2 separate regions of the Homo sapiens genome follow, and region 2 is linked to region 1. The links are contacts of gene promoters, found by promoter capture Hi-C in blood cells and fetal thymus (Javierre and others, 2016). All regions are on one chromosome and are shown on one strand. Each heading gives the region's core, a stretch centred on a gene start or on the middle of the fragment in contact. The rest is flanking DNA. Distances are from core to core; before and after follow the strand shown. Region 1 holds the start of HOXC11 (homeobox C11). Region 2 holds the start of SMUG1 (single-strand-selective monofunctional uracil-DNA glycosylase 1).

Region 1 (6,544 bases), core at 1,700-4,199:
AGAATTTCAGGTGAAGGCCAGGACTCAAAGCAGATGGAGGGGTCACAGGCACCCACCAGATAAGATACAAATAAGCCACCTGGAGCGGGCTTGACAAGGAAGGGATTGGGGGCCAGGGATGGCTCCTGTACAGGGAGGTATTGATGCTGTGGCCAGAATCCACAGGCTGAGAGGGTGCAGCCTAGGGCAAACATCTCAGCTGAAGCGTCCAGGTAGCCTGGACCCAGGGCTGGGCAGGGAGGCTACTCCAGACCATGGGCATTTTTGCCAGTAAATGTCTAGCTGACCTCAGTGGCCAGGGCCTTCTTTCCTTGACCGTAGCAGCAACTGACAGTTGCTAGAGGTTTTTTGATTTGTTGAAAAACTAAGCCATATCAACACTAGAGAACATTTTAAACTTTATGCCTTACTTTTAAGGGGAGGAATATTACTTTCCAGAAGTCTCTGTTGGGAGACCCCAGCGTTTCCTAGACATCAACTCTTTGACATTCTTTCTTGCATTTCTTTTTTGTTTCAAGGAAATAGGGCCGCCAGCAGCTCCTTGTTGCCGCCTGGCTCACTTTTATGGTGGCCCAGGAATAAACTTTGGTGGTCAAATTCAAGTGCTCAGTCCAGCAGCTGTCTCCTCACAGGATACAGCCCCTACCCCCATCTCAGTCCTGGCTTTGCTGAATCTGCCTTGGGGGATTGGGCCCCACATCACCCTGGAGGGCCAGGAGGGGGAAGGAAGCAGAGCCTTGGGTGGAAGTGGAGAAAGCGGGATCTGAGACTCGAGCCCTCATCCACACCTCTGCAAGGATAGGGGTACCTCTCGCTTCCCTCTTGCTGGTTCCTATCACTGTTTGGGCAGCATTTTGCCTTCAATAAACTCGAGTTTAATGAGGTCAGTGTGAACCCCATTAAAAGCCATAGTCCATAGTTCCCCACCACTATAATTAAAAATGCTGGCCCCATCTCACTCTATAAAAAGGGCTAGAGGAAAAAGGAAACACAGCAGATTTTTCTTTTCATGGCCCCTTACCAACAGAAGTCTCACACTTCAGCAAAGCCCCAATCTAGTTCTTCTTTGCTTCAGTTTAAGATCTGACCAGAACTAAAGGAGTAGCGCCCAGCATTGAGTGCGTAGAGGGGCACCTGAGACCTATCCCTGAGTATTCCAGAACCACCCTGAGAATGGGACCCATGGTGGAGGCAGACTCCACTCAGGTGTCACTTAAATGCTGAGCAAGTTTGAGGAGGCAGGAGCATTGAGGAGGAATGGATTTTAGGGGTTACATATGGAGACAAGCTACAATTTTTTGTGTCCTCCTTATCTGGTTTGGGAGCCGCAGCACCTTATCATGTTTCATCAAGACAAATCCATTCTAATTTCTTTAAGTGGAAACTAATTTTAACTGAGGGTTATGGATGTAAAGAGAGTTCGGGCTATTTTTTGTTTTCCCCTGAGTGTGCATTGGGCTGAGCCCTTGGGGGCTTCGGTTCTTCCCCTCCTTCCCAAACAAATTGTGCCCTGGCAGCTCCTCTTTGGATCCAAGGTTGCTTTCAGCTCATGCTGGTTGCTTTTGGCCCCTTGGACCCAGTCCAGAACCTTTCAATAAAGTGATTTTCAGATGCCCACATGTGTCCTGTGGTGCTCAGAGGGATGGAAGGCAAGGGGTTGGGGATGCAGAATGACTGAGCCTACTTCTTGGGCTACAGCTATCCAGGAGGCTGACAGACTTGTAGGAGGGCAGGACAGGGCTGAGAAATAGGAAGGAGGCACTAAGATCTGGTCACAGCCCCAGGGACAGAGGCTGGGGGCTTTGACTAGGGAGTGGCCGCTGGGCCTCCCCTGATGCCACAGCATCCACCGCTCCTTTCCACTGTCTGGTTAGTCTCTTCTGGAGACCCATACCTGGCCCCACCACCCACCTTACAGTCCTCAAAATCATCCAAGGATAAGAACCCCAAACCTAGTCCCCCCCACCATATTCTTCCTGGACCCCTACACTAGGCTTCTTTTCAGCGCACTAGCTGAGGCTGAGCCACTAAGCCAAAGGGCCCTGACATAGAAGATACATGGCTCTCATTCCAATCCTTTTCTTTGGGGTTTGGGATTTGAAAATCCACAGTGGATGTAGCTTTCTTCACATTGATTGACAATAAAGGCAGGCATGAAATATTCACCCAGGGCCACTCTCTCATACTAAATATTTAACACAACATTAGAGAAGGTTTTTCCCAGACTTCGCCAGGCACCGGCTGGGCGGCTGGCGCACTGCTCACCACTCGTTTATGACTAATCTGACTCCCTAGCCAGGGGCAGCACAGCAAGCCAGACAAAGTTGGGACACTGGCTTGCAGCTGGGCTGCCTCACCTTTGGGAAACTTCAGATACTCTTCCGGGAGTCTCTCTAAGGACTCCAGAAAGGTAGTCTTGACACCCAGCTCTGGCCAGGAAAAGAGTGGACTTCTTCAAACTCTTGTGAACAGGCGGTGTCTCTGCGGGTTGGAAGGGTAAGAGTCCCTGAGATTTAAGGGAAAGGATTCACTTCTCTGGGGAAATCAGGCAGTGGGGAAAGAAGTCCTCACTCCCACCCTCCTGGTGCTGCTCACAGAGAGGAGGCAAGACCCCCATACATGAGAGCCCTCCTCCTTCCCCCAATCCTGGGGGAAAAAAGAGCAGCAGCTAGAAAAAAATACAATTACCCCTTCCCAGCCACCACCCTCGCCCATCCCACCGCCCACCCCACCCCAACCCTCTCTCTCCTCCTTTGCTCGTGCTGTGGTATGGAGAGAAGGGGAGTGACGAGAGAAAAACGAATACAAATCTGCAATTGATTTTCATAATGTTTCTGCGGTGTTTGCAAACCAATCGCCTGAACGTCCCCGATCTTACCTAAGAGAGAACCCCTCCTACGTCTGCGAAGTGCTCCGAACTGATATATGACAATATCTACTTTGGATCACGTGCTCAGAGAGAGAGAGACTAAGACGGATAACGCGTCATCTCGCCTTCCCAAATTTTCCCCCCTCGCTAGACCGGGTCCAAAACCTCCATCCGGAGCCGGCAGGAGAGGAGAACGATGTTTAACTCGGTCAACCTGGGCAACTTCTGCTCTCCGTCGCGCAAGGAGAGGGGCGCAGATTTCGGCGAGCGAGGGAGCTGCGCCTCCAACCTCTATCTGCCCAGTTGCACTTACTACATGCCCGAGTTCTCCACGGTCTCCTCCTTCCTGCCCCAGGCCCCCTCTCGTCAGATCTCCTATCCCTACTCGGCCCAAGTGCCCCCGGTCCGGGAGGTCTCCTACGGCCTGGAGCCATCCGGCAAGTGGCACCATCGGAACAGCTACTCCTCCTGCTATGCGGCGGCCGACGAGCTTATGCACCGGGAGTGCCTGCCTCCTTCCACCGTCACCGAGATCCTCATGAAAAACGAAGGCTCCTACGGCGGCCACCACCACCCCAGCGCCCCGCACGCAACCCCCGCCGGCTTCTACTCCTCAGTCAACAAGAACAGCGTCCTGCCTCAAGCCTTCGACCGTTTCTTCGACAACGCCTACTGCGGTGGCGGCGACCCGCCCGCCGAGCCCCCCTGCTCCGGCAAGGGCGAGGCCAAGGGGGAGCCCGAGGCACCCCCGGCCTCGGGACTGGCGTCCCGGGCTGAGGCGGGTGCCGAGGCGGAGGCTGAGGAGGAGAACACAAATCCCAGCTCGTCCGGTTCAGCCCACTCCGTGGCCAAGGAGCCGGCCAAAGGAGCCGCCCCCAGTAGGTAGCAGCGGCCGGGGAACGGGCGGGCAGCGAGGGAGGGAGCGAGAGAGGGAGGGCGAGAGAAGGGGGGAGGCAAGGGGAGCGGGGACGGCCTCGTGTTTTGGGTCAGTCCGATTTTATGTGGAGTTTTATAAGCATTCAAAGGATTTTATTATAACCTACAAAGCCCTCTCTCCCAACGACTCGACTTTTTACGATGGAGAAGGGGTGGGGAGGGAGGGAAAAGGGCTCTTTGGAAAAGCCGGGTGAACCCCCCTCCCCCGTTATCTCCCTCGGTCTGTGAAATTTTTAAAAGCGCAACCATTGCGGGCGATATTAACTTTGATCGTGAACTTAGAGGAGCATTTAAGGAAGTATGGGGAGCCGGGCTGCCGAGGAGTGGGGAGGAGGGGAGGGGTGGAGGGGGAGAAAGGGGAGGGCGAGGGAAAGACAGGGAGAGATCCAGAGAGGGGGAGAGGTGGGGGAGAGGAGCAATGGAGCAGAACCTGAGACCGGAGAGGCAAGCCAGGACCGCTATGATCCTTCTTAAAACTAGTTTTGAAAATGTTCAAACTATGTGTTCGCGGGTCCTCGAGCAGAAACCCAAGCAACTCTGGGGTCAGCGGCGACAGGGGAATGGGGCGAGGCGGCGCAGGACTCCACTGCGTTCCAGGCGGGGGTCTGGGCGTTTCTCCCGGGTCCGCGGCCTTAGTGCTTGCCTAGAACTGCGGTGTGGAAGGCGCTGCCCCGCGGGCTTCCCGGGGCGCCAGGGCCCCGGAAGCGGCTCTCTGGTGTCTCGGTGCCTGCTGGCCGGCTTCCTCCCCGCCTCCCGACTGCTCTCGCCAGATTTCACTGCTTCGCGCCTGTTCTCAGCTTTCCCCCCAGATTTCTGGGGGAGGGGTTGGGCTTTCCGAACCACTAGGAGGGCGGCCCAGGAAGGGCCCGAGGGCGGAGGGGGAGCAGACAGGGGGCCCGAGGGGACGCACGTGTACCTGGAGGGCTTTCCTTCTGTCCCAGACCCTGTCAGCCGCGGCTCTCGCCTGAGAACTGGGGACGGGGTGGCGCAGTGGCGGGGGGGTGGGGACCCGCTAGACCTGGCAGGGGGTCGAGGCTTGCCCGGGTGCTGCGGCTGCAGGAGAGCCAGCCGCCTGGCGGGAGGGCTGCCCGCGGTGGGCTAGGAGAAGGGCCGCTGAGCGCTCAGCGGGCTGGGGTCGCCCGGGTCTCACGTGTCTCTCTCCCCCCTCTCCTCGCACTTGCCCCCTCCCCTCCCTCCAGACGCCCCCCGCACCCGCAAGAAGCGCTGCCCTTATTCGAAATTCCAGATCCGGGAACTGGAGCGAGAGTTTTTCTTCAACGTGTATATCAACAAAGAGAAGCGGCTGCAGCTGTCCCGGATGCTGAACCTGACGGACCGACAAGTGAAAATTTGGTTTCAGAACAGAAGGATGAAAGAAAAGAAACTGAGCAGAGACCGGCTGCAGTATTTCTCGGGAAATCCTCTGCTGTAACCTGCAGACCGGGCCCTTTTGGGGGCGGGGGGAGGGGAAAATTATTTTATTTTATTTTTATTTTTTATTTTCTAACTCGTCTTCTTTCCGCCGGTGGAAAACTGGACTGTGGCCAGGGCTGGCCCCCACCGCTGTGGCCGGCACTCCATTCCGGAACCTCCTGGACCCTCTATCTGACTCTCGCTGTGGGACAGGGACCGGGCCTGGAAAGGGGGTGAAGGGAAGTGTCTGATGCACGGCGAGTGAACACCGTTGGCGCCGAGGCCAAGACTTTGATTTAAAAGAAAACACACCTCGGCGACAATGTCTTGCTGCTCGGATTAGGTGGGGGAGGGGCGACAGTAGTGAGCGCCTGAGCCGAACAATCCTCGAACTAAAAGCCTTCCCTTGCCCATGTGAAAAGATCCGCTAAGACAGCATGTCTGCCAGCGGAAACTTCTCGAGCTCCCCCCTCTACCCCGCCCCACCTTGCAGCTAAATGTGATCCTGCCTTGCTGTGAAATTTCTGTACCTTCAACCTGGTGTTAGGTGTGCAAAGTCCGTGTCCTACCTCCGTCTTCGCCAAGGCCCCGCCCGAGCCTAGTTGTTCTCCCCCTGAATGTGTAGAACCTTCCTTTGAAATTTCTTAATCGGTGCATTGAGGTTTCCACATCTTTTTCCAAGCAGTGCCCCACTTCATGGATTTATAGCTATAGTCTATGCAGTCGTTACCTCTTTTTTTTTTTTTTTTAAGAAAATTGAAGATTGGGGTGGTGGAGGCAGTAGGGAGATGGGATTGGGCACCTCCCCCGTGCTGGGGCCTGGATTTTTGTAAATAAATTTCCCAAGCGTTTCTTTCCACCTGGAGGGAAAGGGGGGGACGCCCCCAGTGAGATTCAAATCACGCATCTCTACTCCTCTGCGTGAGTGCGTGTGTACATGTGCACTCCCCACCCTGCTCCCTTCCCAGAGGGATTGCTGTGAAATTTTTTTGGTGGCAAATAAAGATAAATTTCATTCTGTTCAATATTATGATTTTATTTGACCCTTTTATTAACCCCTCTCCTCTTAAAATCCTCCATGCTCCCATGGCAGCGGCGGAGGAGGAGGAGGCAGGCAGGCAGAGCCCAGCGGGTGAGGACAGGCAGGCAGAGGTGAGATAGGCCGGTGCTAGCCGGCCTGGAGCTCCTCTCCGCTGGCAGGGCCAAGAGTATGGCCGTAGTCTCCTCACATTCTCAAGCTGAGGACATTCCATAGCTACTCTGAAGCTCTCCTTTCTCACGTGCAGCTCGAGCTGTGTCCAAACGCCCAGCAACGGCTTTCTGTTT
Region 2 (6,544 bases), core at 1,481-3,980, 210 kb after region 1:
TCCTTCTCCACAGCACACCCAGCCAAGCATCCACCTAGAACCCCCCACTCCACCCACTGGGGAAGCCAAACCCTTTACCCCAGTCTGGGCCATGCCAAAAGGTCCAGGGTTCATGCCCAGGAAGAGTACTTCCTTGGGGCCCTGGCAGTAGCGAGTCACGTAGTTGCGATGTGGCTCCCATGCATACTCCACGGGATTGTAGATGATGCCCACAGGCTCCGAAAACTGCAGCTGGCTCAGCTCAGCATTGAGCCGAAGCTCCTCCTCCAGGAAGCTCTCAGCCAAGCTTCCAGGGCAGGGCTGGGGCTCCATGAGGGCACCTGCAGGCTCATGGATGGACCCCAGCAGGAAAGCCTGGGGCATATGTCCATGCCGCTGTCACCTGGGAAAAGAGATGGACAGAAGCCCCATCAACCCTCAGCCACAGAGTAGGAGGGATCCATGCTTGCCAGGGCCCCCACTACCATTTCCTGGGCTCAGAAGGGACCCTAAGAGACCATGTCAGTCATCTACCAACCACCAAGTAGGACTGAACTCATCTCAGTTCTTGGTAATGAAGGGCCCTTTCCCTCCCCACTTCCATTATCTGTCCTCTTCACATGGCACCTGGTGAGGATAAGCCATAGCCACCAAACATCTCCCACTCCAAATCTCCTTTCCATCAGGCATAGGTCACTAGTTCCTGGGCTATGCCGAGCACATAGTAGGTTTTCAATAAACATTTACTGGTGGCATCCTTTCAGCACCTTTAAGGTCATCCTAAAAAAGAAAAGCCCAGCCAGAATGGACTGTTCTGGAAAGCACGGCGCTGAAGAATGAAATGCAAGTGCACAGCCACAGCCCAGAGACCTGGGAAGGCTAATTACAATAGCTTCCAGGTGGTGAGCGACTGCTCTGCACCAGGTACACCTCATTGATCCTCACAACAATCCCATGAGGTGGGTATTACTGCTCCCCTGTTATAAGTGAGGACACTGAGGCTTAGCAAGATTAAGCAACTTGCCCAAGGTCTTACAGTTAGTAAGTAATAAAGCTGGATTTGGTTGAGCCCAATCTCTCTGGCTCAAGGCTATGCTTTAACCACCCACGCCATCTTGCCTTAGATGGTTTGATCAGCCACCCTGCTAATTCTACAACCCCCTAACCCCAGCCTAGCTTCTTTCCCACACTCAGGAATACCGAGTAGGATGATTACAGACTCCTCATAGAATCTTACGAGCTACACAACCATGGCCAGAGCCTCAGGTTTCCACCTTCAAATACAAAGAATAATAATATCCACTTAATAATGTTGACATAAGGAAGGCCAGGCATGGTGGCTCATGCCTGTAATCCCAGCACTTTGGGAGGCCAAGGCGGCTGAATCACCTTAGGTCAGGCGTTCAAAACTGGCCTGGCCAACATGGCGAAACCCCGTCTCTACTAAAAATTACAAAAATTAGCTGGGCATGCTGGGCGTGGTGGCTCAAGCCTGTAATCCCAGCACTTTAGGAGGCTGAGGTGGGCAGATCACCTGAGGTCGGGAGTTCGAGACCAGCCTGACCAAAATGGAGAAACTCCCACCTCTACTAAAAATACAAATTAGTCAGGCATGGTGGTACGTGCCTGTAATCCCGGCTACTCTGGAGGCTGAGGCAGAATCATTTGAACCTGAAAGGTGGAGGTTGCGGTGAGCCAAGATCGTGCCATTGCACTCCAGCACGGGCAACAACAGTGAAACTCTCTCTCAAAAAAAAAAAATTAGCTGGGCGTTGTGGTGGGCACCTGTAATCCCAGCTACTCGGGAGGCTGAGGCAGGGAGAACTGCCTGAACCCGGGAGGCTGAGGTTGCAGTGAGCCAAGATCGTGCCACTGCACTCAAGCCTGGGCAAAAGAGCAAGACTCCATCTCAAAAAAAAATAAAATAAAAAATAAATAAATAAATAAATAAATAAATAAATAAATAAATAAATTTGCCGGGCGCAACAGCTCATGCCTGTAATCCCAGTACTTTGGGAGGCTGAGGCAGGTGGATCACGAGGTCAGGAGTTCAAGATCAACCTGGCCAACATGGTGAAACCCCGTCTCAACTAAAAATACAAAAATTAGCTGGGCATGGTGGCACGTGCCTGTAATTCCAGCTACATGGGAGGCTGAGGCAGGAGAATTGCTTGAACCAGGACCTGGGAGGCAGAGGTTGCAGTGAGCCGAGATTGTGCCACTGCACTCCAGCCTGGGCTACAGAGGGAGACTGTCTCAAAACAAACAAACAGACGTAAGGATGGAATGAGATGTTATGTTTAGGTGAAGGGAGAAAAGAAATGGGAGAGGAAGAAGAAAGGGAAGAGAGAAGGGAGGTGGGAGGAAGGAGAAGGGAGGGGGCAGGAACATGACAGCAAGCTTTGTAAACTGCAAAGGCCATTGCTTCACTCCACTCCCATTCAAACCCAGTGTTCCAACCTGACCATTCTACTCACATTTTCAAAATGCCTTTCCTGCCTCAACTCCCAAAACCTTGCACATACCATTTCTACAGTCCAACCAAATACACTCCTGAAGTCAACCAGGACATCATCCAGCAGTCATCCAGTCAACTAGGACTGTTGATTCCCCAACCTGTCCACATATCCAAATCACTCCCATCCTTCAAAATGCAGCTCAAACCATCCCTTTGATAAAGTCTTCCCTCCTCAGAACACTGCAGTATTTGCCATAGTGTCCCAACCCCACCCCCAACACAAGTAGGTCCCGTGTGAGGCCTGGGAATCTGTGTTTTTTGTTTTGTTTTGTTTTGTTTTTTTTTTGAGACAGAATCTTGCTCTGTCGCCCAGACTGGAGTGCAGTGGCGCGATCTCAGCTCACTGCAACCTCTGCCTCCCGGGTTCAAGTGATTCTCCCACCTTAGCCTCCTGGGTACTGGGATTACAGGTGCGCAGCACCACACCCGGCTAATTTTCGTATTTTCAGTAGAGACAGGGTTTCACCATGTTGGTCAGGCTGGTCTCGAACTCCTGACCTCATGATCTGCCTGCCTCAGCCTCCCAAAGTGCTGGGATTACAAACGTGAGCTACCGTGCCCAGCCTGGGAATCTGTATTTTAAACAAGCTTCCCAGGGTGATTCTGATGGTTGGTGAAGGCTGAGAACCACTGTGTGTCACCATGGTTACCGTCGTCTTAATGAATTCCTTTTGCCTCCCCAGCTAAACTTGGGCAGATCAAGAGCCAGGCCTTGTTCAATCTCCCTCCATAAGCCCAAGGTCCTGGCCCTTATTAGGTACTCAACAAACACCTGCTCAGCAATGTCCATCTTCTTTTTCACTTTTGTTTAAAACTACCTTCTGTGCTGGGCACAGTGGCTCATGCCTGTAATCCCAGCACTTTGAGAGGCCAAGGCAGAAGAATTGCTTGAGGCCAGGAGTTCAAGACCAGCCTGGCTGACATAATGAGACCCCATCTGTAAATATAAAAATAAAATAAACAGCTTTTACCAAGGAGGCACTCCTGATGGATCCTTCTCCACTTCTATATCCTGAGTTCACTCAAGGCTTAGCTGCCCACTTTGCACTCTGCTTGTTTTCCAGACTCTGGGTCTGTGCCCATCATATGTGTGCCTCCCATGCGACAAGGACCATTGTCATTCCTTCCTCTCAACTTTCTGCCTGGGTCAGGAGTGACTTCTCCAAGATAAGAACTCAAGGTTGACACAACAGCTCGATAAACCTATTTTCTCACCCTAGCCTAGGGGAAGTGGGAGAGAAAAGAAATCAGAGGCCCAACTTAGGAAGTCCTTCCCTGACTGTCTCAGTAGTCTTTAACTGATCTGTTGTCCAGGTGGCTACCCAGGACAAACTGGGCTCATACAAAAGCTGAGAAGGGTGCTGTGGAGAACGCCAGTGTTTCAGGGGACCTTGCTTTGCATCTCCCCATGCAACACCAACATTAGCAGATTGGCTGCTCCAGCTCTAGAATCTCGAGAAGTCTTGAGCCCACCTTTGACATTTAGACACCTGTGTTGGAAACAGCAAGGCTGGGGAAAAGAGTGGCAAGATACTACTTTCATTGTTCCATAACTTCAAAGCCTGATCTCATAGCAAGAGCCACAGGCTGGAAGTCAATTGATTTGAATTCTACTCCTGTTTCATCTCTAAGAAGGTTCTCTTGAGCAACTCATTTAACTCTCTTCTCTATGGAAAATCACATACTCCATCCAACCTACCACCTGTTAACTCATTTTTTTTTTCAATACTTATGAGTCTCTTACATGACAGGCACTGCAGCAGTCTCTTGATGAGGAAGAAATCCAAAAAGAGTAAAATGTAGGCCAGGCTTTCTGTAAGCTCATAATCTGCTGTGAGGGCAAATAAACAACTAACTGTAATACAGTGTGATGTGAGCTTTAATACCCGGAACAAAACACTAAGAGAACCCAAAGGAGGAACTTGTAAGTTCTACCCAAAGTCGCCCCAAGAGCCAGAGGCTTAAGAAATGTAGATATTTTATAAAATACGGTGTCATACTACATTAAGCACAAAGACAGCGGAGTTGGACCAAGCGATAAGGCTGACCACCAAGGGCCGACTTCAGACTGATGTCAGACTTCTCTGACATCAAATCCGGGAAGTGAGGAAGGAATCGAAATCACATATGCACTCCCCTGTCCTTTGGAGGCACTCCGGGAGTCCAGGGACAATAATAAATATCCTTAAACGAAATAATAATAATAATAATAATAATAATAAATAATAATAATAATAATAATAATAATAATAATAATAATAATAATGCATAGGCCGGGCGCGGTGGCTCACACCCGTAATCCGAGCACTTTGGGAGGCCGAGGCGGGCGGATCACGAGGTCAGGACTTCGAGACCAGCCTGACCAACATGGTGAAACCCAGTCTCTACTAAATACAAAAATTAGCTGGGCATGGTGGCGCGCGCCTGTAATCCCACCTACTCGGGAGGCTGAGGCAGAAGAATCGCTTGAACCCGGGAGGCGGAGGCTGCAGTGAGCTGAGATCGCGCCATTGCACTCCAGCCTGGAATTCAGAGCAAAATTCCGTCTCAGAAAAATAAATAAATAAACAATAATAATAATAAAGCATAAACTCAAAAAGACCATTTCATCTGGTTCCAAAGGGGCCGACTACTAAGGCACCATACAAAACCTCCGGGGGCGCCCGCTGGCTCCGGCCGACTGGAAAGCCTTGATCCTGCAGACCTCCCAGGCGGTTTCATAGGCTGGGCTCTCCCTGCACTGAGTCTTACCCCATACGGAGGGAGGGACCCCAAAATATAGAAATTCTAACCACCCTCTCGGCTCAGCCCCGACGACCCTGGGAGCCGTCAACTTGCCCCCACAGTCCCGGATTCCCAGCCCCCTACTTCCTCACCTGGTCCAGCTCCCCATCCCGTTTCCGGTTCCTTTCCCCCACCCCAAACCCAACCCCCGGCGCTAAGGACAGTGGGAGTCGTAGTCTACATTGTTTAGGGAAGGAGATTGGCGTACCCGCAGCCACTTCCGCCGGAAATGCTCCAATCCCGGAAGGCGCACTAAATTAGCCCTAAAGATCGCTGGGAATTGTAGTTTAATCTTTCCATCAGCGTTAAATCAGGAAGTCTTGAGAAGTGAAAAGCCACAGCCTGTAAGTACCTAGGAAATCCTGGGTTCTATCCCTAAAGGGCATCGCCCTTCCAAAAGTTCATTCACTATTTTCCCAAAGGGATTGCAAATCAGGAAGCTTCAACCATCCCCAATCCCTCACCCACCTGAAGGTATTAACAATAGCTAAAGACCATTGCTAGGCCCCCTGCCACCGTGGGTATAAGAGACTTCTCCTTTGCAGCCTGCCATTACTTATACAGAACATCCACGAAGACATTTCTGGTAGCTCCTAACAACTTTTTAGCAAGGGGCATCCCCCATTACTGTCCAAGCCCATCTCCAGAGTGTCACCATTTTGACTTCTTTCTCTGCCTTGCTATCTGCCCAACCCTATAACCTCAGTATTAGTCAAGAGTTTTCCAGAGAACAGAACTAACAGGATATCTATCTATATGACGAGATTTATTCCAAGAATTGGCTCACAGGATTGTGGAGGCCAAGAAGTCCCACAGTCTCCCGCTCTGCTGTCTATACACTGGAGAACCAGGAAAACAGGTGGTATAATTCAGGAAAGTCCAAAGCAGGGGAGGAGGCTCACTGCTAAGTCCCAGAGCCTGAAGGACGAAGAACCAGGAACTCCAATGATGTCCAAAGGCAGGTAAAATAGATGTCCCAGCTCATGAAGAAAGAGAATTTGCCTTCCTCCACTCTTTTGTTCTACTGGCCCCCAAGGGATTGGATGGTTCCCACCCATATTAATGAGGGTGATCTTCTTAGTCTACCAATTCAAATGCAAATCTCTTCCAGAAACACTCCACAGACATATCCAGAAATAATGTTTTACCAGCTATCTGGGTGTCCCTTAGACCACTCAAGTAGACACATAAAGTTAGCTATCACTCTTCCATCCAAATCTTCTCCCTCAAATACTTTGTCCAGGAAGGCTTCCCTGATCAATC

What was found. Contacts are between HindIII fragments. The CHiCAGO score rates a contact against its expected background, and 5 or more counts as called.
Region 2: a contact is called between a fragment that was not itself captured here and the fragment with the promoter of HOXC11 in region 1, in 1 of 17 cell types (activated CD4 T cells). The highest score is 5.3, in activated CD4 T cells.

What each region holds. Positions count from the first base shown.
Region 1 is chr12:53,970,177-53,976,720 of GRCh38, forward strand. It overlaps HOXC11 (homeobox C11), which reads left to right and starts at 2,950. Exons shown (of 2, transcript NM_014212.4): 1 at 2,950-3,747; 2 at 5,005-6,544. The coding sequence starts at 3,066. The coding sequence ends at 5,237. It overlaps HOTAIR (HOX transcript antisense RNA), which reads right to left and starts at 4,778. Exons shown (of 7, transcript NR_186241.1): 1 at 4,722-4,778. RefSeq lists enhancers at 4,176-4,770, 5,101-5,250. The HindIII fragment of the contact is 12,279 bases long and covers 1-6,544 here.
Region 2 is chr12:54,183,578-54,190,121 of GRCh38, forward strand. It overlaps SMUG1 (single-strand-selective monofunctional uracil-DNA glycosylase 1), which reads right to left and starts at 5,408. Exons shown (of 4, transcript NM_001243787.2): 1 at 5,374-5,408; 2 at 4,242-4,325; 3 at 79-382. The coding sequence starts at 363. LOC105369777 (a long non-coding RNA gene) reads left to right here and starts at 5,520. Exons shown (of 3, transcript XR_944984.2): 1 at 5,520-5,625. The HindIII fragment of the contact is 706 bases long and covers 2,378-3,083 here.